Linked DNA regions of Homo sapiens: all the other regions are linked to region 4. Evidence: promoter capture Hi-C in 16 types of primary human blood cells and fetal thymus (Javierre and others, 2016). All regions are on one chromosome and are shown on one strand. The core of a region is centred on a gene start or on the middle of the fragment in contact, and the rest is flanking DNA. Distances in the headings are between cores, read along the strand shown.

Evidence for each region. Contacts are between HindIII fragments. The CHiCAGO score rates a contact against its expected background, and 5 or more counts as called.
Region 1: a fragment that was not itself captured here is called in contact with the fragment with the promoter of RAB6A in region 4 in 1 of 17 cell types (M2 macrophages); the score reaches 7.9 in M2 macrophages.
Region 2: a fragment that was not itself captured here is called in contact with the fragment with the promoter of RAB6A in region 4 in 1 of 17 cell types (M2 macrophages); the score reaches 5.0 in M2 macrophages.
Region 3: a fragment that was not itself captured here is called in contact with the fragment with the promoter of RAB6A in region 4 in 1 of 17 cell types (M2 macrophages); the score reaches 7.4 in M2 macrophages.

The regions. Positions count from the first base shown.
Region 1 is chr11:73,901,562-73,905,049 of GRCh38, reverse strand. All of the region lies in intron 6 of PAAF1 (proteasomal ATPase associated factor 1), which reads right to left. Among named protein-coding and RNA genes, the nearest start is that of PAAF1, 26 kb to the right of the region's middle. The HindIII fragment of the contact is 1,319 bases long and covers 708-2,026 here.
Region 2 is chr11:73,944,699-73,948,155 of GRCh38, reverse strand. No RefSeq gene overlaps it. Among named protein-coding and RNA genes, the nearest start is that of DNAJB13, 4.6 kb to the left of the region's middle. The HindIII fragment of the contact is 2,278 bases long and covers 329-2,606 here.
Region 3 is chr11:73,923,701-73,927,247 of GRCh38, reverse strand. It overlaps PAAF1 (proteasomal ATPase associated factor 1), which reads right to left. Exons shown (of 12, transcript NM_025155.3): 11 at 2,551-2,633. Among named protein-coding and RNA genes, the nearest start is that of DNAJB13, 26 kb to the left of the region's middle. RefSeq lists an enhancer at 347-846. The HindIII fragment of the contact is 5,817 bases long and covers 1-3,547 here.
Region 4 is chr11:73,759,398-73,763,048 of GRCh38, reverse strand. RAB6A (RAB6A, member RAS oncogene family) reads left to right here and starts at 1,975. Exons shown (of 8, transcript NM_198896.2): 1 at 1,975-2,483. The coding sequence starts at 2,414. It overlaps LOC124902711 (a long non-coding RNA gene), which reads right to left and starts at 1,891. Exons shown (of 2, transcript XR_007062775.1): 1 at 1,809-1,891; 2 at 1-1,312. RefSeq lists silencers at 1,368-1,557, 1,718-2,027 and an enhancer at 2,324-2,824. The HindIII fragment of the contact is 8,881 bases long and covers 1,258-3,651 here.

The DNA.
Region 1 (3,488 bases), core at 118-2,617, 140 kb before region 4:
AACTCCTGGCCTCAAGAGATCTACCTACCTTTGCCTTCCAAATAGCTGGGATTACAGACATGCACCACTGCACCCAGCTGGAAAAGGCTTTAGATATCAAACCAAATAGATACAAGTCTTCACCATACAAACCAGAACACAAAAGCATTTGCCTTCAAGAAAAGATTCAGCAGAATCACATACGAGCATCCCAGCCAAAGTCTGGAAATACGAATAACATTAGATGAAACTATTCCTGAAATAAATATTTGTAAGAAATAAAGCAAATTTCATATTCCCAGGTGTATATTCTTAACAAGTGTATTTATTTAGTTTCTCTATCATATTAAGCTGTTTTAATGTTGCTAGGGAGCAATATACATACATGCGTATATGGGAAAATTAATGGCTATGACTCAGATCTCCGAAAAAAAAATAAGCCTTGAAGCACCTCCTATTACTTGGAGGCGGCATAGCCAATTTCTAAGAAAGTATTTAAGACTTGGAAAATAATGGCGCAAGTGCTGATACTGCAACCTGGTTTCTTAAAATTATTCTATAAATGTAAGCATTTCCACTACCATTATGAGAAAAAAAATAAAAATAAAGCCAACTAGTTAACTAAAATAGGGTGTAATTTGGTCTCAATGTTTCACTGATTATGAAAGATGTAATGCTTATTATAAAGAATTAGGATTATAAATGTATATCCCCAAATTTCACAAGCTTACTTAAATGGCCTGGGCAATTTAACTTCAAACTGATTAAAGTGCATTTTAGAATTACTTATTGAACTCATATGTTACAATCACAAAACTACTTTTAGTCTACCTTTCCACTTGAAAAATTCAGCATACACAGAAACCTTACCTCTGCTTGTTAATTAAGTAGAGAACAAACTAATCCTTTAGTTATATATATTTAAATACACACACACACACAATTGGGGGACCAATTTATGTATATATATATACTTTTTTTTTTTTTGAGACGGAGTCTCGCTCTGTTGCCCAGGCTGGAGTGAAGTAGTGCAATCTTGGCTCAATGCAACCTCTGCCTCCCAGGTTCAAGTGATTCTCCTGCCTCAGCTTTCCAAGTAGCTGGGATTACAGGCGCACACCACTACACCTGGCTAATTTTTGTATTTTTTGTAGAGACAGGGTTTTACCATGTTTGCCAGGCTGGTTTTGAACTCCTGACCTCAGGTGATCCTCCCACCTCGGCCTCCCAAAGTACTGGGATTACAGGGGTGAGACGCTGCGCCCGGCCAATTTTTTTTAATGTTTCTTTTTATATGGGTTCATGGCTCTGAACAAAATGCTTCAAAATCTCATAAGAGATTTTTTTTTTTTTTGAAGACAGAGTTTCATTTGTTGGCCAGGCTGGAGTGCAATGGTGTGATCTCAGCTCACTGCAACCTCTGCCTCCTGAGTTCAAGCGATTCTCCTGCCTCAGACTCCCAAGTAGCTAGGATTACAGGCTCCAGCCACCACACCCAGCTCATTTTTGTATTTTTAGTAGAGACTGGGTTTCACCATGTTGGCCAGGCTGGTCTTGAACTCCTGACCTCAGATGATCCACCCGCCTCGGCCTCCCAAAGTGCTAGGATTACAGGCATGAGCCACAGTGCCCGGACCAAGATTTTTTTTCTTTTTAAGTCACACAAAGCAACTTGGAAGTCATTTGGTTGGAGACAGTGATGATCGGTCAATCTATAGGTTGCTAAGCTATCAGATCTATCTATATATACGCTGTTAAGCTATCAGAGATCAATCCTGATTTTTGCCACGCTGTGGAAGAATGGGCAACCCCAAACCTGGGGCTACTTTATTCAACGAACTGGAAAGGAGCCTTTGTGACCTGATAAGAGGCCAGCCTGGATCTGACTTCATGTCATTTCTTCTAAAGTATATCATTCCGTTCAATCTACTAAAAACTCCCTTCTCAAGAAAAAAGTCAGGGCTGTTATACTCTGCAGAAGGCACTACTCTACCCCAGGACTTTCTCACAAGGCCAAAAGAATGGAACAACTACATGAATAAAAGCTTATATCTAAATTGATTTAACATTCTAGGCCGGGCGCAGTGGCTCACGCCTGTAATCCCGGCACTTTGGGAGGCCACGGCAGGCGATCACAAGGTCAGGAGTTTGAGACCAGCCTGGCCAATATGGTGAAACCCAGTCTCTACTAAAAATACAAAAAAAAATTAGCCGGGCATGGTGGCGCATGCCTGTAATCCCAGTTACTGGGGAGGCTGCGGCAGGAGAATTGCTTGAACCAAGGAGGCAGAGGTTGCAGTGAGCCAAGATCGCGCCACTGCACCCCAGCCTAGGAGACAGAGTGAGACTCCATCTCAAAAAAAATAATAATAAATAAATAAATAACATTCTACTATTTACTCTAAGCTAAAGGTCCATACATATTCTTAGGGAGAATTAAGGAATGTTGGGAGACTTAGGATTCTGTAAAGGGAACAATAATTGCAGTGATCCAAAGGTATTTATAAACTGGATGTGCACTGATGTTGAATATGCATCTTGTTAATTAAGTTCAACATGCTGAGTCATGACTTGTTCCACTGAAATGTTTTCCTGTGCCCACACCTTCAGAGGGATGGCCAGATCGGAGGTGAAGCTTGCACTGTTCCTCTAGACTACTTTGGCTCCTGGACTCCCCAGATCTGTAGGCCATTCTGACTCCTTCAATCTCTCAGTTCTTCAGGAGGTGATGAGTTCTTCAGTAATGTAAGGAAGGCTCTGAATATTGTTTCTATTCCCTCTCAATGTACCCGTTTTCTTACATCATGGAAGTAAACCATTTATGTACTTAGGTTAATGTGTGTGTTTGCTAAAACATCAGCATGTAATCTGGCAAAATGTTATAAAGAAATATTAAAACTTAAAACTTGGGCCAGGCGCAGTGGCTCATACCTGTAATCCCAGCACTTTGGGAGGCCAAGGTAGGCAGATCACTTGAGGCCAGTTTAAGACCAGCCCAGCCAACACAGCGAAACCCCATCTCTACTAAAAAATACAAAAATTAGTTGGATGTGGTGGTGCACGCCTGTGATCCCAGCTACTTGAGAAGCTGAGGCACAAGGATCGCATGAGCCTGGGATGGGGAGGTTGCAGTGAGCCGAGCTGGCATCACTGCACTCCAGACTGGGCAACAAGCGAAACTAAAAAAAAAAAAAAAAAAAGGCAAGGCGCAGTGGCTAATGCCTGTTATCCCAGCACTTTGGGAGGCCGAGGCTGGTGGATCACCCTGAGGTCAAGAGTTTGAGACCAGCCTGACCAATATGGTGAAACCCCATCTCTACTAAAAATACAAAAATTAGCCAGGTGTGGGGCGTGTACCCGTAGTCCCAGCTACTTGGGAAGCAGAGGTTACACTGAGCTGAGATCATGCCACTGGACTCCGGCCTAGGCGACAGAGTGAGACTCCATCTTAAAAAAAAAAAAAAATCTTAAAACTTGATCTCCACACACAAGTTACAATGTACTGAGGT
Region 2 (3,457 bases), core at 218-2,717, 190 kb before region 4:
TCACCTGAGGTCAGGAGTACAAGACCAGCCTGACCAACATGGAGAAACCCCATCTCTACTAAAAATACAAAATTAGCTGGACATGGTGGCGCATGCCTGTAATCCCAGCTACTTGGGAGGCTGAGGCAGAAGAATAGCTTGAACCTGGGAGGCAGAGGTTGCGGTGAGCAGAGATTGTGCCACTTCACTCCAGCCTGGGCAACAAGAACGAAACTCCGTCTCAAAAAAAAAAAAAAAAAAAAAAACTGACTAGTGGCTTTTTATGTTTTTTGAAAACAAACTCTTTGTTGATAATATGAAATACGAATCCTTTCTTCAACTTGAAGCTTTTTTCACCTTTTTAAAAGTCAAATGTATCAATCTTTTCCTTTCTGGTTACACGTTTTGTGTGTGTCTAGTTTAAGAAATATTTCCTTATGTGAGGGCATAAAGATCTTCACCTATATGATCTTCCGAAAGTCCATTTCACATTTAAATATTTAACACACCTAGAGTTTATTTTTTTGTATATGGAGCAAGATAGTATCTTTTCTGAAAGATATCCAACTGCTCAGATCATTTATTTAATTGTCCATTGTCTTCCCACCGATCTGTACTGACTGCTGTGTTAGATATGAAATTTCCACATATGCATGGGTTGGTGTCTGGAACTACTGTCCATTGGTCTATCACTGGGGCAATGTGTTGCTAGAAGAGCTGAGGCAAGTCTTGCTTGTCTGACATAACGTAAGAGAGTCTTGGAACATGTCCTGGGTCCAGGGTCTAAAACCCCTCGTGGCCTTTGGAACACCAAGCTCTGTGCCAAAGGGTGGAAGGCTGCCCTGCCACACCACAATCTAAGCCCAGGGCATAAAACCCCTCGTGGCTTGGATGCAATCCAGGGCTCAGGGAATAAAACCCCTTGTGGCCTCTGGAATGTGTCCAGACTTGCTGGCTCCTTGCTTCTTGCTGTCCCAGGTTTGTAAATTGATTGTTATCTTGAGATAGAAAAACACGTTCTCCATTATCTCGAGTAGCAGAGCATACTCCATATGCTTAAAAGAAAATGCTAAACTGCCACAGCTATAGGTCAAACGCTTGATGCACCGCTTCCTTTCTAACCCCATGTCCTCACGTCCTCACCACCTGCTTCTGTTTGATCACCAATAAAGAGCGTGGGCTCCCAGAGCTCAGGGCCTTCGCAGCTGCCATACTGGTGTTGGCCCCCTGGACCCACTTTATGCATTCTTGTCTTGTCTCATTCCTTCGACTCTGCCAGACTTTGTAGCCCCCACAGCCTGGTGTTGGGTCTGATCACTCCAACATTTCTGGCACCCAATGTGGGGCAACGAAAACCCCTGTGAAGGAACGCTAGAGCATGCGGAAGCAGAGGACAATTGTCAGAGGACACCAGAGGATGACTGAAAGAAGCTCGGCAGGTAAGCTGGACGCTTGGAAGAACCAGGGTAACAATGGGACAGAATGAAAGCAAATATTCTGCTTATTTAAATTTCTTAAGGCATTTATTACGGAGAGGGGGAGTGAAAGTTAGTACTCAAAGTCTATTAACACTTTTCAGCACAGTAGAGCAGTTCTGCCCATGGCTTCCGGAACAAGGGACTATGGAGTTGGATGAATGGGAAAGAACTGGCAGAGATTTTAAAAAGGCATATAAAGATGGAGCCAAAATTCCAGTTTCTGTTTGGTCAGTGTGGGCGTTAATAAAGGCAGCTCCTGAGCCATTTCAAACAGATGATGAGGCAGATTCAGATGAAGAAGAGGAGGATGAGTGTAAGAAACTAACATCAGATTCTGAACGCGAGGCACAGGAGCCGGAGGAAATCATAGAAAAGAAAGGAAAGCTGAAAAAGACATATTTTACTGGTCCATCAGCTCCGCCTGCTGAATTAAGTGAATGGCCACCTCCTCCCTCTCCCACAATGGGTGAGAAAGTGAAGCAGCTGTAAAAATTACTGCTCCTGTAGTGACAACATTAAAATCTGAAGCAACTGGTGGTGCTATACAAAATTCTATTCAGAAGGCTAGAGCTGAAGGACACCTTGAAGCATGGCAATTTCCAGTTACTATAACCCAACAAGGAGGACAGAATACAGCTAATTGGGCCACTTTTCCTTTTAAGTTATTAAAAGAATTCAAGCAAGCCATTAGTCAATATGGGCCAAATTCTCCTTTTGTGTGAACTTTACTAAAAAATGTGGCTCTTGATAATAGGTTAGTACCATATGATTGGGATACTTTAACAAAATCTGTTCTCACTCTGTCTCAGTACTTGCAATTTAAAACTTGGTGGGCTAATGAAGCTCAAACTCAGGCAAGAGAAAACACACAGGCACAGCCGCCTGTGCCTGTGTCCTCTGAACAGTTAATGGGGGTCAGCCCTAACAGGGGTCGATTAGACAATCAAGCATTAATGGAGGATGTTGCCATTGCTCAGTTATGCTCTGTATGCTTAAGGGCATGGGAAAGAATAAATGTTATAGAGGAAAAATATCCATCTTTCAGTTCTGTCTGACAAGGAACCATATACTGATTTTATTGCTCGGCTCCAGGAGGCTGTGTATAAAGCCATAACTGACAAAACAACCTCAAGATGTTGTAATAAAGCTTCTTGCATACGATAATGCCAATGCAGAATGTCAAACTGCTATTCGACCTAGGAGAGGGAAGCCTCATTTGGCTGAGTATATTAAGGCTTGTGATGGCATTGGGGGTAACTTACATGAGGCTACTCTTTTAGCTCAGGCTATGGCTGGATTAAAAGCCGGAAAAAATATGCCTCGTTTCTCGGGTTCTTGTTTTAATTGTGGGCAATTTGGACACACAAAAAAGGAATGTAAAAAAGGAAATCAACAGGCAAAGGTTACTACCAGTAAGCAGCAAAAAAAGTTCCGGTATCTGCCCCCGATGTAAAAAGGGAAATCACTGGGCAAATCAGTGTCATTCTAAATTTAGCAAAGATGGACAAACTCTCTTTTGGGCCCCTCAACAAACCGAGGCGTATCTGGCACAGCCAGTGCCCTTACAAACGTACAATTGTCCCCCGCCACAGCAGGCGGTGCTGCCGTAGACCTCTGCAGCACAAGTCCTGTCTCCCTACTTCCTGGGGAGCCACCAAAGAAGGTCCCCACGGGAGTTAGGGGCCCTTTACCCTCAGGATCAGCTGGTCTATTGCTTGGAAGGGCTAGTTTAAATTTAAGAGGTGCCACTGTACATACAGGAATAATTGATTCTGATTATACCGGAGAAATTCAACTAGTTATCAGTTCCTCAACTCCATGGTCTGCTTCCCCAGGAGAAAGAATTGCTCAGTTGTTACTTCTACCTTATACAAAACTGGGAAGCAGCATAGTAAAAGGAATGGGAGGCTTTGGTAGTACAAATCCAGCAGGAAAGGCTGTCTATTGGGTTAATCAAGTGTCTGACAAAAGACCTATTTGTACAGTAACGATTCGAGGTA
Region 3 (3,547 bases), core at 694-3,193, 160 kb before region 4:
GATTCTTCCATTTCAAAAAGATGGAGGCTTATGATTGACACACACTAGTCCCATGGAGTCTGAGAAGGCTTTATGAAGGCAACAGAATTACATCCATAATTATGTGCTTACAAAAATTGTTGGCCCATAGTGATGGATGCATCCCAATCACCAATGGTTGGGATGCACCATGACTATATAACAGAGAAACTAATTGGCCCAAGTGGAAAGCAAACCCATTAGTATTGTTCAGGTTTAGCACAGATGGTCTGCCTCTAGGGAGGAGATGGTTCAGAGATGGGCTTGACTATTCTTGAACCTTATAAAATTGGATGCAAAAATGTTCTGAATATGTGTCTTTTTTTCTGAGGAGGATTTCATCAACTCCTCAAGGAAAACAGCATGAATTCTGGAGTTAGTCTCAGCTTTACTACCAACTAGCTGCATGACCTAGGGCAACTTTCTCAACCCCCCAGGCCCCAGTTGCCTCATTTGTACAATGGAAATGTGTTGATTCAAAATATGGAACACTACACAAGAATTTTGTTTGTTTGTTTTTTGAGACAGACTCTTGCTCCGTCGCTCAGGCTGGAGTGCAGTGACGCCATCTTGGCTCACTGCAAGCTCCGCCTCCCGGGTTCACGCCATTCTCCTGCCTCAGCCTCCCAAGTAGCTGGGACTACACACACCCACCACCACGCCTGGCTAATTTTTTGTATTGTTAGTAGAGACAGGGTTTCACCGTGTTGGCCAGGATGGTCTCAATCTCCTGACCTCGTGATTCGCACCCCCTCCGCCTCCCAAAGTGCTGGGCATGAGCCACCACGCCCGGCCGGAACACTACGCAAGAATTTTTAAAAATGAAATAGATGGCTGGGCGCGGTGGCTCACGCCTGTAATCCGAGCACTTTGGGAGGCTGAGGCAGGCCTCAGTCGGGAGTTCAAGACCAGCCTGACCAACATGGAGAAACCTCGTCTCTACTAAAAATACAAAATTAGCCGGGTGTGGTGGCGCATGCCTGTAATCCCAGCTGCTCGAGAGGCTGAGGCAGGAGAATCGCTTGAACCTGGGAGGCGGAGGTTGCTGTGGGCTGAGATCGCGCCATTGCACTCCAGCCTGGGCAACAAGAGCGAAACTCCATCTCAAAAAAAAGAAAGAAAGAAAGAAAGAAATAGATCTATATGCATTTACCTGGAAACAGCTCTAAGATGGTAATTAAAAAAAAGTCACAGGGCAATATATAGAGATAGTCTCAATTACGTACAAACTGAAGATAAAAGTATATTATTTACATTAATACATAAAGATGTAAGTGTGCAAATTCTCTGAAAATAGTCTTGAAAAATATGTGCCAAACTTTTAATGCTAGTTACTTCTGGAAAAGAGAAAGGGAACCAAAAAGGTCGTAAAGGAGACTTTTAAATCTGTATCATTCTGTATTGTTTGAACTTTTACAGATATTAATTGTACAACTTTTTTTAAATTATAGGAAAAAATAGGAATAGTAATACCTACACCTCAACAAATAGTAACAAAGATTACATGAGATAACGTATATAAAACGTTCAGCACAGTGTCTGGTCAATAAATATTCCCCTTTTGTTTTTCTCTATTTGAATCAAATGAAAAAATCAGTCTAGAAGTCTTAATAATAATAAGAATGAATAATATTTATAGAATGTATTTACAAAGAGTTTTCAGATTACTATCTTTACAGATGAATTGACAGACTAGTGAGGTAAAGTAAGTTTTTAAGTTTCTAGAGCTAGTAAGTGATGAAGTCACTTTTTTTTTTTTTTTTTGAGACAGGGTCTCACTCTGTTGCCCAGACTAGAGTGCAATGGTACAATCACAGCTCACTGCAGCCTCAACTTCCCAGGCCCAAGCAATCGTCCCATCTTGGCCTCCCAAATGAGTAGCTGGGACTACAGGTGTGTGTGCCACCATGCCCAGCTAATTTTTCTGTATTTTTTGTAGAGACGGGGGTCTCATCTTATTGCCTAGGCTGGTTTCAAACTCCTGGGCTCAAGTGATCCACCTGCTTCAGCCTCCAAAAGTGCTGGGGTTACAGCTGTCAGCCAGAAGTCACTTGTTTTTTTTTTTTTTTTTTTGAGATGGAGTCTCACTCTGTTGCCCAGGCTGGAGTGTAGTGGTACGATCTTGAGGCTCACTGCAGCCTCCACCTCCCAGGTTCAAGCGATTCTCCTGCCTCAGCCTCCCAAGTAACTGGAACTACAGGCATGTACCACCACGCCCAGCTAATTTTTTTGTATTTTTAGTAGAGACGGGGTTTCACCATGCTGGCCAGGCTGGTCTTGAACTCCTGACCTCAAGTGATCCACCTGTCTCGGCCTCCCAAAGTACTGGGATTACAGGCGTGAGCCACCATGCCTGGCCCAGAAATCACTTCTGAGTTAAGCTCTTGATTTCTTGCCATCCTACCACACTGCTTATACAATAAGCACTATTTTATCATCCCTAATGACCACAAGGTATCTGGATTCAGTCTCATAAAAGCCCTAGATCTCTCATGAGAATCACCCAGGTCTGGTGTCGTCTCAGGCCTGTACCTTGTACACAGGGTCACAGTCAGCCCCAGTGAGCTCAGTGACATAGTCTAAGTCTTGCTGGACAATAAAACAGCTTCCATCACCTGAAAGGCAGAAAGAAAATTCATATAACTAAGAGAAAACTGCATCCAGAGTTTAAAAACTCAGTATTTTTATTTGCTTCTGTAGATCACTAGTGTAAAGAAGATGGTCCAAAGACCCAGAATGGCAAATAGATCTTATTACGTGGGCCAACTTTTTTTTTGTTTTTTGAGACAGAGTTTCGTTCTTTTTGCCCAGGCTAGAGTACAATGGCATGATCTCAGCAAACTGCAACCTCCACCTCCCAGGTTCAAGCAATTCTCCTGCCTCAGCCTCCCAAGCAGCTGGGATTACAGGTGCCCACCACCACGCCTGGCTAATTTTTGTAGAGACGGGGTTTCACCATGTTGGCCAGGCTGGTCTCAAACTCCTGACCTCAGGTGATCCACCTGCCTCAGCCTCCCAAGGTGCTGGGATTACAAGCGTGAGCCACCATACCCGGCCTATGTGGGCCAATTATGATGATCTATAGTGGCTGCCTAGAATGCTGAGCTGGGCTGGATTTGAAGAGCAAGTGCAAGTTCTGTGGGAAAAAGAGATGTCTTTGATTAGCAATGCCTGCCAAAGGCACAGAGCAAGCAACCACAGGTGTGTGTGTGTGTGTGTGTGTGTATTTATAAACTTATCCTAGATTATATTTAATAGGGAATGTCTAAAAAATGTCTTTAACATTTTTTAAAGAAACATTTGTGTAGATATTCCCTATTAAAATGTTCCCAGATTATTCCTCAATCTGTAAATTTGACTGTATACACTAGGAGAAAGAGGACAGTTACACTAAGAAAGTAAAAGTGTATCTAATTCTTAAAAGAGCATGGACAAATGAAACAAATGAATCATAGGGGTGATCTATAAACTGCTTAATAAGGTGATTTCTTTTTGTTAATATAAAAGTAGTAAAAATACAAAAAAAATT
Region 4 (3,651 bases), core at 726-3,225:
AGAGGAACCAGAAGGGAGTAAATTTTGATAGAGATGGTTTGAGGATATAGCTGTTGTCTTGATAGGCCAGAATAGATGATATTTTAAGAACTTTGGTTCTTCCCTGTAATTTATTCTAGGTCAGCAATTCATCCCTGGGCCTGAGAAGGCACTTTTTCAATCCTGTCATTTCTACAGCTAAGCAAATAACTCCCCAATAATGAGAAAAAGTACATAAATGTTTTGTGAATGATATACACAAATGATATACATTTGTGTATAGACACAAATGTAAGGACATATTTTTTATTATTCACTTAGAAAGTTTTTTTGTTTTTTTTTTTTTTTTTTAAGACAGGGACTTGTTCTGTCACCCAGATTTCAGTGTAGTGGTGCCATACCTCAGCCTCCAACTCCTGGACTCAAGCAATCCTTCTGCTTCAGGCTCCTGAGTAGCCGGAACTACAGGAGCACACCACGATATTCGGCTATTTTATTTTTTGTAGAGATAGTGTCTTGCTTTGTTGCCCAGCCTGGTCTCGAACTCCTGGGCTCAAGCGATTCTACCGCCTCGGCCTCCCAAAGTGCTGGGATTACAGACGTGAGCCACCGCGCCCAGCTGCTTTATGGATTTTTTTTTTTGGAGACAGAGTCTCGCTCTTGTTGCCCAGACTGGAGTGCAATGGTGTGACCTTGGCTCACTGCAACCTCCGCCTCCCGTGTTCAAGCGATTCTCCTGCCTCAGCCTCCCAAGTAGCTGGGATTACAGGCACCCGCCACCACACCACGTTAATTTTTTGTATTTTTAGTAGAGATGGGGTTTCATCATGTTGGCCAAGGCTGGTCTGGAACTCCTGACGTCAGGTGATCCACCCAACTCAGCCTTCCAAAGTGCTGGGATTACAGGGATGAGCCACCACGCCCGGCTTTTTTTTTTTTTTTTTTTTTTTTTTTCTGTTGAGATGGAGTCTCGCTCTGTCGCCAGGCTGGAGTGCAGTGGTGTGATCTCGGCTCACTGCAACCTCCGCCTCCCGGGTTCAAGCGATTCTCCTGCCTCAGCTTCCCGAGTAGCTGGGACTACAGGCGCGCGCCACCACCCCCAGCTAATTTTTGCATTTTTAGTAGAGACAGGGTTTCACCATGTTGGCCAGGATGGTCTCGATCTCTTGACCTCGTGATCCACTCGCCTCCGCCTCCCAAAGTGCTGGGATTACAGCCGTGGGCCACCGCGCCCAGCCCGCTTTATGGATTTTGCAAGTCATTTACTCCCTCTAAGCTTCAGTTTCCTCATCTGCAAAATTGGGAGGCCATGATTCTGGCAGTTATAACATTCCTGGGAGCAATGGAGGAGAATGTTATTTAGTAAGATGCCTGTGAGGAATTATGATGAGAGGATGGAGAAGGTGGGGTGTGTGCAATGGTGAAGAAGGGATCTGAGGACTGTGAGGCACGGCTGAGGGCTCAGGAAAGAGGCTCCCATTACAAATTTTAAGGCTATAGGACCCCACCCACACTTTTTGGGGGATCATATTCCACCTTTGTCCCGGCCCCGCCTCCGCCCCACCCTTCTCCCCCTCCCCTTTCTTTCCTTCCCCTCCCCTCAGGCTGAGAGGCGCCACACTTCTTATGGCCGCCACAGTGCTCCGCTTTCCACAGCTCGAGGGCTGCGCGCGCTCTCACGCTGCCACCTCACTCGCGTGTGGGCTCGCCCTCAGCCCCTTCCGATTGGCTCATTATGTAAGTGACGTAAGGGCTCCAGCCTCCCACTAACTTATCCCTGGCTTGCCCCGCCTCCTCCTGGCTTCTTTTGACGCCAGTGGAAACCTAACCTGCCCCGTCGCCGCCGTGCGGGAGGAGCCGGTAGAGCTGTCCAAACCAGGAAGGCGATGGCGATGGCGGTGGCGCGCACGCATGCACGCACGCACGCACGCCAGCGGCCGGCGGGGCCGCAGGCTCGCGCCCGGGCTCGCCCCGCGCCGCTCCAGAGGCTCGCGCACTCAGCAGGTTGGGCTGCGGCGGCGGCGGCAGCTGTGGAAGCTCAGGCGCTGCGCGTGAGAGGTCCCAGATACGTCTGCGGTTCCGGCTCCGCCACCCTCAGCTTCTCTTCCCCAGGTCTGGGAGCCGAGTGCGGAAGGAGGGAACGGCCCTAGCTTTGGGAAGCCAGAGGACACCCCTGGCTCCTGCCGACACCGCCCTCCTTCCCTTCCCAGCCGCGGGCCTCGCTCGGTGCTAGGCTACTCTGCCGGGAGGCGGCGGCGGCTGCCAGTCTGTGGAGAGTCCTGCTGCCCTCCAGCCGGGCTCCTCCACCGGGCCTTGCAGGGGCCGAGAGAGCTCGGTGCCCGCCCTTCCGCTCGCCTTTTTCGTCAGCTGGCTGGAGCAGCATCGGTCCGGGAGGTCTCTAGGCTGAGGCGGCGGCCGCTCCTCTAGTTCCACAATGTCCACGGGCGGAGACTTCGGGAATCCGCTGAGGAAATTCAAGCTGGTGTTCCTGGGGGAGCAAAGCGGTGAGTGCGTGGCTCCCCTACTCCTGGCAGCTGGCCGCAGCGTCCCCGCACCGCCCCCGGTGCGGCCCTTCCGTCCGCGGAGGCTCCCTGCCCGCCTCGCGTCCGCGCTCGTTGCCACCGCAGCCCTTCCCGATGTGCCCCCCGGTGCCACTGGCTCTTCGCCAGTGGCCGAGTTTTTACCCTGTTCCCCGGGTTCTTCAATCCTCGACTCCCCGGCTCCGTTCCCCGCAGTCCGGCCATCTCCGGTCGATCTGCCCTCCCTCCCCAGACCTCACCCCGCCCAGCCTCTTGTCCATCCCTTTCTTCCTCCGGTCTCGGTCATTGCCCGTACCCCGGCCCCCTTTCTTGAGCCCCACCCTTATTCCTTGCTCTTTTCCCAGTTCCTCAGCTCTGTGAGGCCCACTCAGGGAAGCCCCACTCCCGAGAGCGGGCCCTCTTCAACCTTGGCCAAGGAGGGTGGGATCTGGGCGTTGTTTTCCCCAGAGGCTTGGCCCTGCGAAGTGCTGATGTCGTGGAAGGTGGGAAGGGGTGGTAGTAGAAAAAATTAAATGATTTTCACCTGGGTGGGAAATTAGTCTGGGCCATAGAGGAAACATCTGAATTGGAGACGACTTGAGCATGGGGTGGTTGGGGGTGAAAGGGGTAGCGTCGGCAGTGGAGATTTTTGCCCCTTAGGTTAGATGGGGCTGTGGCTTGTCGGAAAACCTCATTTTGTTCTCTTGACTTTCATCACTGACAATTCTTTTGGCAATGTTGATGATTTTTCAATCTCTGCCAGATGCTATGTCATGATCATTTTACTTGGAATTTTTCTCATCTCACCTCCCCTTTTTCTCTTTTCAACATGAAGCAGCGTCTGAGTCTCATGGTGGTACAAAAGGGAATTACTGGGGAAATGTTAATTATTCATTCCTTCTTGAGTATTTTCCAATGATATATTGAGGATTCATGTGAGAGAAGGCTTGGAATAACAAACATCTTTGTTTTGTCGGATTTCCTTTGGAAAATGGAGTAGAGTAGGAACAGACTCATCATCTAGTTACCTAAATTAGATTTAAATACCATTTGGGCTAAATAATTCTTTTATGCTTAATATTCTGTACTGTCTGATGAGTGAAATTGTTATGTCATTTACCTGGTCAGGTTCTGCTGTCACTGTACTTTTGTA